Regions from separate parts of the Homo sapiens genome. Here region 1 is linked to region 2. Evidence: promoter capture Hi-C in 16 types of primary human blood cells and fetal thymus (Javierre and others, 2016). All regions are on one chromosome and are shown on one strand. The core of a region is centred on a gene start or on the middle of the fragment in contact, and the rest is flanking DNA. Distances in the headings are between cores, read along the strand shown.

Region 1 (5,558 bases), core at 2,151-4,650, 2.5 Mb before region 2:
GGGTATGACATGTTTTGCTTTCTGGATAAGCAGGGTCTCTCTTAAATATGAAGATGGCTCCAGTGTCCAGAGGGAGACTAAAATCTCTCAGCTGCCAGCCACGCACATTACCTGAATGATTCTGGATTACTACTGGCTTCTTGAGATGGGCTGGGGTCAAGACAGGGAAGAGTTTTGAATGAAGATGCCAGAAGAGGCCTTTGAGAGGGTGGATGGGAATTGCGAAAGGCCCATTTCCCCTAGACTTAAACCCAAATTCCCTAGCTGTGATGATACCAGGAACATCCTTCAGGGAAATCTCCCTTTGTTATCCACACTGGTAGAGCTCCCAGCTCAATCCACAACTGCACACCCCCTCACTCTAAGAGTCACTCTTCCCATGGTGTAGCCAACATCCACCCTCTTACTCTAGACGTGGCAGCCCTCCTAGATCCACCCAACCGTTGACTTACGTTCAAAGGCCATCACCCACCCCAGCACCATCTTCCAGGAACTGGCCTCTCCCCCATCAGTCCCCGCCCCTCTTCTGAGAGCACCCAATGGGTGGAGTCGGGGCTGCGGTGGGAGGGGCCTGAGGCGGGCACATTTAAAGAAAGGCAGCCGGCGAAAAGAGGCAAGAGAGGAGAAGAAAGAGAAACCAGGGGGGCGAGGCGCCGTCCAATGACAAAGCCCAGGGGTGGGCGCCGGCCGCCATCTTGTACCGGGCAGCAGGATATTCGCCCGCGTCCTCCGCCCTCGGAGGGGGAGGGGCGGCGGCGGAGGCGAGAAAAGTAGCGAGAGACGCCAGCAGCAGCCGCCGCCGCGGAGCCAACGCGGACTGGGACGGCGGCGGCAGTAGTGGGACCCGGCGAGCGTGAGTGGCCCGGAGCGGCCTTCGATGCGGCGCAGTATGAAGAGGCGGCGGCGCCGGCGCCCGGTCGCCCCGGCCACGGCCGCCCGGGGCGGCGACTTTAGGGCAGAAGACGGGGCTGGGTTGGAGGCGCGGGAGGAGAAGGTGGTGTACTCGCGGTCGCAACTGTCGCTGGCTGACAGCACCAAGGCGCTGGGCGACGCCTTCAAGCTCTTCATGCCCCGCAGCACGGAGTTCATGAGCTCGGACGCGGAGCTCTGGAGCTTCCTCTGCAGCCTCAAGCACCAGTTCTCCCCGCACATCCTGCGCAGCAAGGACGTCTACGGCTACTCCTCCTGCCGGGCCCTGGTACCCGACCCCCCGGGGCCCCCTACAGCCCGCGGCCAGGCGCGCCGGCCGGTTCCGCGCGCAGCGGCCAGGAGGAGGCGCCGCGGAGCCCGGGCGGCCGCTGCCCGCAGGAGGAAGCCCCGGCCGCCACCCCCACCGCCGCCGCCCCCCGAGGAGAGCTGCCCGGCCAAGCCCGTGGCCCCCGGGCCCTGCTTCGGGGGCCGCACCTTGGAGGAGATCTGGAGGGCGGCCACCCCGACGCTGACCACCTTCCCCACCATCCGCGTCGGCAGCGACGTGTGGGGCGAGCGCAGCCTGGCGGCAGCGCGGCGCAGGGCGCGCCAGGTCCTGCGAGTGAACCTGGAACCCATGGTGAGGCTCCGCCGCTTCCCGGTGCCCCGGGCATGAGGTGCGGCCTCCAGGGCGCCTCCTGCCGGCCCCGACCTTGGGACAGGCCTTCCGCCCGGAGGAATGAACAAGTGTCAGTCGAGTGTTTACAGATCCGGCCAGGACCCCGGCCCCCAATGCACTTTACGCGCGAAGAAGTTGCCGGATGGTTGTCCCTGTCCCGGGCCGCGGCGCGGTCGTCTTGGACGCTGGGGCAGGTGTGCCCTCTGCTGCCTCCCGTACCCGGCCTGCGGAGGGAGGGGACAGCTGGACCCGCAGGGGAGGTCCCTTTCTTCCTGACCACCGATTGAGACGTCTCCAGGACCTTAGGGGCAGATCCGTTTTCTCACTGTTGGACTCTACCTCACTGGTCTGGAAGTCCTCCGAAGACATTATTTTTCCAAAGGAATTTGGTTTCGTGCTTGTGTAATAAAGCCAGAATTTACTTGTTCTTTATCTCCCCCTTTTTCTATTTCACTGTCACCCCTCTTTGTGGACAGAAGTTCGAACATGTGGTGTTGCACTAGTTTGTGCTCAGGGTATTCTGAAGCCCACTCGTTTCCTAATTTTTACTGGATTCCAAAGCTTTGATCGAGGATATTTTTTAAGAGGTTCAAGCTTGTGACTGTTAGTAGTGCAAGGATTTGTATGGGCTCAGTGATTACAAACAAAGACATGCAAAATACAACTGTTTAAACATTTTCAAGGTATTTTTAAAGGTTTTGTATTGAAACAATGTTTATATTTACTGAGCTCCTAAAAATGGTAGAATACACATGAAAACTTTTGTTTAGGAAAAGTTAACTTGTTAAATTCTTTTGAATTGAATAAAAAAATGCATTGAAACCATATGGTGTGTGATTAAAAAAAATGAATAAATTGTGAAGAACTGGTTTTGGTTACAGGAGTCACTGGAATCCGACTGGAGATGATTTGGCCCCCTGTCCTGGTCTAACATACAAATCTAGGAATATTATGCGTTAAAGTATTTTAAAATACATTATCCTTGTAATGTATTTTACAAGGATAATGTATTTTAAAATGGGAGTTGCATAGGAGAGATGGATGTGTGTAAACATTATCACTAAAATGATAAACAGAATACCCATTAGAATTCTTAGAACTATTAATGATCAAGAGGGGTGGAGGCATTTCTTGGTATCAAATAACTGGTTAAGGTTACTTTGGGCGAAATCTATTTCCTTTTTGTTTTTGTTGTTGGATAACAAGAAATGTCTAGACTAATATTCATCAGTTTTACAAACATAATGAAAATTAGTTGATTTTTAGTTGATTTTTTTGTCCCAACATTTTTTTTAACCTTTTTGCCACTCATTATATGTTTGCAGTTCTAGGTCTTTGACAGCTGAAGACCACAGGAATCAAACAGGCGAGACACACAGAATACTGACCCTTCTTTACGCTTTTATAGTGTTTATACCATATGGCCCAGTGTGGAATTCTTGATTATCCAAGTGCCTTTGGTCATTTGTGGCAGGAAAACTTAATAGTTTTTAGCCAGCAGTGCCACAGCCAGCTTTTACTGCAATACCTAAAGGGTCAAGTAGTGTTTTTGTACCACTATTATTTCAAATTTAAGTATTCTGCCATGAAACGATCCATACTGGGCTGGAACTTGACATGTGAAATCTTTAATACTAAAGCTTATCTCTGCTTGGCAGCTTTTTAGGAGAATAATGAGAGTTACAATTTTGACTCTTGCGTTCCTAGAATTCAAATGGCATAGCTTTCTGAAATGAGTATTTCAAGTTTAGTAGTCCGTATAGGAGTGTTGTGACTTCAATTTCAGTGTTCTTGTTAAAAGAAATAATATGATATATATATACACACATATATATAACTTGATGCCAGTTTTCTAGTAAGCCTCAGTCTTTTATTCACTACTCAATGATAATGCATTGTACAAACACTGTCACATGAGTAAATAAAAATGAATAATTCCTTAGAAGATGGAGAGTGTTAAATTATATTTGTGATAGGAAGCTTAGACATATCTTTTGGTTATTAGCTTCCATTGCCAATTGTATTTCAGATGCATAGGGTTTTCTTCCCAAAAATATATTGTTAACTTTTATAGCTAACTAGCACCTGGAAAAAATGTATTTGTACAACTTTACTATTGTATATAGTTTTATAATAATGAAAAATAAACCCAATGGCCATATTAGAATGCAATTTCGACATACAGCTTATCTAGATAGTTTTCCAGAGGATTTTGAAATTTGGCTTAACTGGGAGGATAACTGCTCAGCACACCACTGAAACATAACCACTGACACCATTCATTTATTTTAACTGAGATTCTTGACATTTTTCTCTCCTATGCCTTGTTACTTTAGCATACTTGAACTCACATAAATGCTTCTTTGGATTACATGGGCTATCTGATTCCATTTTGGATCTGATTGTCCATCTTGAATTCAATATGGTATTCATCTGGACTATTCAAAAATTATGCCATTTCTAGTCTGTGAAATAAGATGTAAAAAATCTTTATTTTTGCCCTTTGGTAAAAACCTATGTGACAACTTTTAAAATGTGAAGCAACATCTAATATAGTTGACTGGTATACTAATAGGAAAGTGAAAGTATTTCATGGGTACTTTGTCACAGAATGTGAAAAGAAACTTGGCATAGTGGCCTTTATAATGAGGCATCCACTTACTCCTCTGAAGTGAAGTCTGTAGCTTAGCTTGTGTATAGTTTTTGAAAGAAATCTCATGATCTTCGTTCATTCTCTTGCCTTCTCTTTTATCTCATATGGCACAAGTAGAGGGGGAAGCCAGGAGGAAATTCATCACCTCGCTATGCTTTTATTTGATTTTTAATTCCTGAGTGCCTAAATGTGGTGACCGGCACCTCACATAACTTTTTGAGATTCTTGATGTCATTTTTATCCTTCCTGTCAACCAGCAATGTATTTTTATGTTACTAAAACCAGTAACGTCATAATTGTTGAGGGCAAGCTTCATTGTTGATAGTGCAAAGTGTCGCTGTTGTGATGTGTGTTTATTTTATTCAAGTTTGAATATTGACAAGTGTAACTTAAGCTGGTGACTGACACCTATTGATCTGCTGTGTGCAAATGATAGTACTATTTTTTAGAAAACTCTTAAGTAAATTTTAAAAATATTTGAATACAAAATATCTGAGCAATTTTGAACTCAAAAGTTTTTCATTGTTTTAAGGATTGCCACAGGACTCTTTAATGGTTTTTAATGGACATACATGCCTAATATTTATTGGTGTGTTTAAAATATTTTTTGATAGAGTGTTATGTCTTAAGCGCATTAGAAAACAATTGTTTGTAATGGAATCAAAGTGTTTCCCTGGACAGTTTGATGTGCTTATGGTTGAGATTTATAATCTGCTTGTACTTTGCTTTTTAACTTATTAACTGTAAATAAATTTTAGAGAATACATAGTGTCTAGTTTTTCTAATGATTTGAACATTTTTGAAATGGTATTTTGTATTTGTATGTGACTCAGAAAACATCTTAATTTACAATTTGATAAATTTTGACTTTTTTGTGAACTTCAAATTCCCAGAAATCTCGAGATTTGTTTTTTGTGCTATCTCGGGAGTCTGTGTTCCATCAATTCTTTAATTATCTAGCGAATTTTTAGGATGGCGCTACAAGCCCAACTTATTAACCAGTTTGCCAGCAATAAAATATCCTACAAAAAAAAAATGCATCAAAATTCAGAATTCTCTAAATCCTGACCCGAGGTGCCCCTGTGACGATGACAAAAGGTCTAAAGCTCTTGCTCTTTCATGGCATGAAAGGAAGTAAGAGTGCTCCATTTGAGTACCAGTGGTATGGGCTGTTCCACAGAATAAGGGCAGGGCTAGAATTTTCATTAGAGTCTAGAAGGCAGAAGTGGAGTATTAGTGAACAGCACAGCAAGAGCCGGATTCATAGATAGTACTGTGTGGGCTGAATTTGTCTTTGTACCTAAGTTCCTATTAGTT
Region 2 (5,637 bases), core at 2,197-4,696:
TTAACATTTTTTCCTTCATTTCAACTTTGGTGAATCTGACAATTATGTGTCTTGGAGTTGCTCTTCTCAAGGAGTATCTTTGTGGCATTCTCTATATTTCCTGAATGTGAATGTTGGCCTGCCTTGCTAGATTGGGGAAGTTCTCCTGGATAATATCTTGCAGAGTGTTTTCCAACTTGGTTCCATTCTCCCCGTCACTTTCAGGTACACCAATCAGACGTAGATTTGGTCTTTTCACACAGTCCCATATTTCCTGGAAGCTTTGTTCGTTTCTTTTTATTCTTTTTTCTCTAAAGTTCCCTTCTCACTTCATTTCATTCATTTCACCTTCCATCACTGATACCCTTTCTTCCAGTTGATCACATTGGCTCCTGAGGCTTCTGCATTCTTCACGTAGTTCTCGAGCCTTGGCTTTCAGCTCCATCAGCTCCTTTAAGCACTTCTCTCTATTGGTTATTCTAGTTATACATTCGTCTAAATTTTTTTCAAAGTGTTTAACTTCTTTGCCTTTGGTTTGAATTTCCTCCTGTAGCTTGGAGTAGTTTGATCGTCTGAAGCCTTCTTCTCTCAACTCGTCAAAGTCATTCTCCGACCAGCTTTGTTCCATTGCTGGTGAGGAACTGCGTTCCTTTGGAGGAGGAGAGGCACTCTGCTTTTTAGAGTTTCCAGTTTTTCTGCTCTGTTTTTTCCCCATCTTTGTGGTTTTATTTACTTTTGGTCTTTGATGCTGGTGATGTACAGATGGGTTTTTGGTGTGGATGTCCCTTCTGTTTGTTAGTTTTCCTTCTAACAGACAGGACCCTCAGCTGCAGGTCTGTTGGAGTTTGCTAGAGGACCACTCCAGACCCTGTTTGCGTGGGTATCAGCAGTGGATGCTGCAGAACAGTGGATATTGGTGAACAGCAAATGTTGCTGCCTGATCATTCCTCTGGAAGTTTTGTCTCAGAGGAGTACCCGGCTGTGTGAGGTGTCATTCTGCCCTTACTGGGGGGTGCCTCCCAGTTAGGCTGCTCAGGGGTCAGGGGTCAGGGACCTACTTGAGGAGGCAGTCTGCCCGTTCTCAGATCTCTAGCTGCATGCTGGGAGAACCACTGCTCTCTTCAAAGCTGTCAGACAGGGACATTTAAGTCTGCAGAGGTTACTGCTGTCTTTTTGTTTGTCTGTGCCCTGCCCCCAGAGGTGGAGCCTACAGAGGCAGGCAGGCCTCCTTGAGCTGTGGTGGGCTCCACCTAGTTTTAGCTTCCTGGCTGCTTTGTTTACCTAAGCAAACCTGGGCAATGGCGGGCGCCCCTCCCCCAGCCTCGCTGCCTCCTTGCAGTTTGATCTCAGACTGCTGTGCTAGCAATCAGCGAGACTCCGTGGGCGTAGGACCGTCGGAGCCAGGTGCAGGATATAATCTCCTGGTGTGCCATTTTTTAAGCCCGTCGGAAAAGCGCAGTATTAGGGTGTGAGTGACCCGATTTTCCAGATGCTGTCTGTCACCCCTTTCTTTGACTAGGAAAGGGAACTCCCTGATCCCTTGCATTTCCTGAGTGAGGCAATGCCTCGCCCTGCTTTGGCTCGTGCACGGTGCACTGCACCCACTATCCTGTGCCCACTGTCTGGCACTCCGTAGTGAGATGAACCCAGTACCGCAGATGGAAATGCAGAAATCACCCGTCTTCTGCATCACTCATGCTGGGAACTGTAGACCAGAGCTGTTCCTATTCGGCCATCTTGGCTGCCTATCGAGGCCATTATTATTCACTGTTTGGGAGACTGCAATAGTCGTTTCAACAAATGAAATTGATTCCACTTTCCACACTGTAGCCAGAAGGAATATTTCTAAGTCAAATCTCAACATTTGCTTCTCTGCCTACAATTCTTTATTGGTCCCCAGCCTGACCTCCTACTACTCTCCAGGTTTATATGTAAAAACTATTTGCTAGTTTCAGTTATGGGATTGCCCATTTGTCCCTTTTTGTCTGTACATTCTTTTGTTTACAATTTCCTTCTTGGTCTCACAGGTGAATCTTTTCTTCAGCCTCAGCTTCCAGGTTCTCTCCTCTGAGAAACCATCCTAAATCATCCAGATGGTAAGGCATGTTCTCTCAGATCAACAATTATCTTTATTATGTAACTGCCAGGCGTTAACTGTGTATGCTGGAAATTGAACTGTGAAGACAGTGTTTCCTGTCCTCATAAAGTATATAGAGAGGGAGACTAACATTTTAGACAGTTTAGTCAGTTTTATTGAATGCTATAAAGATGTCGTGTTATGATTATAATATATGTATACCTTATATGCACAGTATGTTACGGACGTATAACCATCTTAGGAGAGTATCAGAGGCCAGCTTCCCTTGGAGACATTGAAATTTAATGGGTGGTCCCATTATAACCTTTAGAATTCTCTATTAAAAAGTACCTGGGCAAATGCTTTTGAATTGTTGCTGTGAAAATACTATTTTGACTAGCTAATACGTTATATACCACAACTCTCAAAAGATCCTTTTGACCATCACAAATCTAAGACTGATCTACAATCTATGGGCAGATTGAAGTCCACAATTTAAATTTATGTATAACAGGTAGTATGTACAGGATCTTCTACTCCTAGCAATAACCTAGCCAGTATTATCCCTATTTTATAGATAAGGAAGTTGAGGCTCAACTATTCCAAAGTCCCCCTATTCAGCAGTTGAGTCAGTCAGTGGTCCCAACCCAGGGGTTTCAGGACGCCAAGCTCTCTTTCCACCATGCACTTGCCTACTTCTGTATCTTATTTCCAGAATCTTCTAGTGTTTAGTCGCTAGTAGGTGCCTCACAAATAAATACACGTGAAAGCCTAATGCTAAAAGTAGCATTATTTTTACTATCAACCTCACCAACACACACTACGACTTCATCCCATTAGGACTGAGAGGCTTTCCACATCTGGTTTAAAGCTTGCACAAAAAATAGTAATTCCAAGCTGTGCATTAAACCCCATTACACCCTGTTTTGTACTCAATGCCACTAATTTCCCACAACGTCGTCAGGGAAAAAAACGACAACAAAAACATCTTTTGACAATATTAGTCTTCTAAGTCCGCCTTCCACGTCCCTCTAAGGGCCCCAGCTCCGGGTCCGTCTTCTTAGGCACTCAAGGTTTCTAAACTTGGGGCTTCCAGCCGGTAAAACTAAAGGCACGGGGTTCAGGGGTCATTGGAGGCCCACGGGACCCCCTTAACCCCTTCCACCCCTTCCCTATTCGCCCATCTCCATGTCGTCTCCTTAGCCTTTGAGTGGAAAAAGCGTCAGCCCGAAATCCCCACCAAGCCCAAGAATGGGCAAAACCTCGGCGCGCACAGGACCAGCGAGAAGAGGATGGTTCCGGCCCTGAGACTAGAGCGGCGGCGACGCTCGGCGTACGCGCTGCCGTCACGCCGCAGCCCGGCAGCGCAGGCTCCTCCCACGACGCTGCGGGTCCGGTTTCCGGCGGGAGCGTGGGCCGCCAGACTCGGGAGAGGCTCCGTCTTGTGCAAGGGTCCTGTGGGCTGGCTGCACTGGCCTCTGCGGTGGTGCCTGCCAGAATGCCCCACTTGGAAAACGTGGTGCTTTGTCGCGAGTCTCAAGTGTCCATCTTGCAGTCCTTGTTTGGAGAGGTATTGTAGTTAAACTGTCTTCCAGATCCTGGAGGCAGACGTTTCGGTAGTCTTGCGACCTGTTCCAATATTTGTTTTTTCGTGTTTGGATTGAGGGCCAAAAGGCCGTTTTTACGTTAAATAGGGGTGTTGTGGTTCTGTACTGCAGCTTCACCCACAGTCTCTTCCGAATATTGAAGAGGAGACAGTCTGAGAGCGACCGGCCTGCACTATAGGACGTTGCCTAAGACGTATTTGAAACACGCCACACTTTTCAGAAGTTTGCCCACATTAGCTCCTAGAAGTTGCTTGTTATCTTACCCCAACCCAATGACATTTATGTAACAGATGTGTTTGCAGGGTGTTATTTATTCAAATGTAAGTTCACACGTTTCTGTGCGGTAGTTGGAGTGAGTCAAGTGTAGAGAGGTGGTTGCTTTCAAGGCCACTAAGGGCCAAAGCAGTGCTTCAGGTTTAAAAATTTACTGGCTTTTCCAGAATTGTAACAGTCCAGAAGAGGTCTAGGGTAAACTTTTCTCCTTAACTGATAGTTCACAGGATGCCCTAGAGAGGAGTTTGTCTTGTCTGGATGAACATAGATACGTAGGGAGTCCTTTCAATAGGCAGAGGGTAGCGTTCACCAATTCAAAATTTAACCTATTTTTGACTATTTTCTGGTGGTCTTTGATGTGCTTTTTGATTCAGACTCAATCAGAATTGGAATTAATCAAACTTGGATCTTACCTGCGAAGAGAGTGAATGAGAATTCAGGGTCATACTCATACCCCCATCTTCTGGTTTGCTTTTTTAAGTACAGTCATGCGTTGCTGCCACTTAGTGAGGGGGATACGTCCTGAGAAATGCATCGTTAGGCAATTTAATCCCTGTGAATATCAGAAAGTGTATTTACACAAACCTAGATGGTGTAGCCTGCTATACACCTAGGCTGTATGGTGTAGCCTGTTCCTCCTAGGCTATAAACCTCTACAGCGGTGCTACTATACTGAATACTGTAGGCAGTTGTAACACAGTGATAAGTCTGCATCTAAAAGTGTCTAAACATAGAAAAGGTACAGTGAAAATAGGGTATTATAATCTTATGAGATCACTGTTGTATATGTGGTCCATCTTTGAATGTACACGTGACTGTACTTTCATCCAACTAGAAATATTGCATGGCAATTTGAGGTGGCCTGTGAAGCATTAGTGGAAAAGTACTACCCTCTGTCTAAAGGGGTGCATTATTTAGGGAAGTTAGAGGTCAACAACTGCATCTTCAATTAATTTTCTATTTATACTGCTTTCAATTATAGTTATATTATTACTGGAGCATTTTCTTGATTATGTTCTCTGCATTTCATCTATGGAACGCAGATCACTCCAGCCAGAAATGTTCCTGCTGAAAGAGCAAATTGGCAAATAGGGATGAGTAAACTTAGTGGTGGATCACAGAAGAGTTTTTGACCTTTGCTTTTAATGAAAATTATGTTTAACAATATTTTAATATCAGTTTTCTGCAAGGTGCTGTGCATGTGGGAAATACAAACAACTATAGCAAAGAAATATAAAAAATTGGTTCATGTTTCTAAGAATACTCATTTATTTGTTCAATAAATAAATATTTACCGAGCACCTTTTCTGTGTCAGGTACTAGCTTATTGCAGTTTATGTTAGCGAGATTTATGAAGGTGAAAGGTTAAATAACAGTGGAACAGTTCAATATAATTCTAGGTCACAATAGAAAAGATGTTTAAGGTATTATTAGGCAACAACATGTAATGGATAGCAGAGATACTCAGCAACATGCATTTAATTCTTGAGACAGAATTTTTTGTTTTTGTTTTTTGAGACAGGGTTTGGCTTTCTTTCCCAGGCTGGAGTGCAGTGGCATGATCTTGGCTCACTGCAGTCTCTGCCTCCCAGGCTCAAGCAGTCCGCCCACCTCAGCCTCCGAGTAGCTGGGACCACAGGTGTTTGCCTCCAAGCCTGGCTATTTTTGTGTTTTTTGTAGAGATGGGGTTTCACTGTATTT

What was found. Contacts are between HindIII fragments. The CHiCAGO score rates a contact against its expected background, and 5 or more counts as called.
Region 1: a contact is called between a fragment that was not itself captured here and the fragment with the promoter of ORC5 in region 2, in 1 of 17 cell types (total CD8 T cells). The highest score is 5.2, in total CD8 T cells.

The regions. Positions count from the first base shown.
Region 1 is chr7:106,656,216-106,661,773 of GRCh38, reverse strand. CCDC71L (coiled-coil domain containing 71 like) reads left to right here and starts at 616. Exons shown (of 1, transcript NM_175884.6): 1 at 616-5,558. The coding sequence starts at 878. The coding sequence ends at 1,585. RefSeq lists a silencer at 1,173-1,442 and an enhancer at 1,793-1,842. The HindIII fragment of the contact is 340 bases long and covers 3,231-3,570 here.
Region 2 is chr7:104,205,822-104,211,458 of GRCh38, reverse strand. It overlaps ORC5 (origin recognition complex subunit 5), which reads left to right and starts at 3,446. Exons shown (of 14, transcript NM_002553.4): 1 at 3,446-3,626. The coding sequence starts at 3,555. RefSeq lists enhancers at 3,268-3,427, 3,478-3,557, 3,598-3,787. The HindIII fragment of the contact is 7,936 bases long and covers 2,930-5,637 here.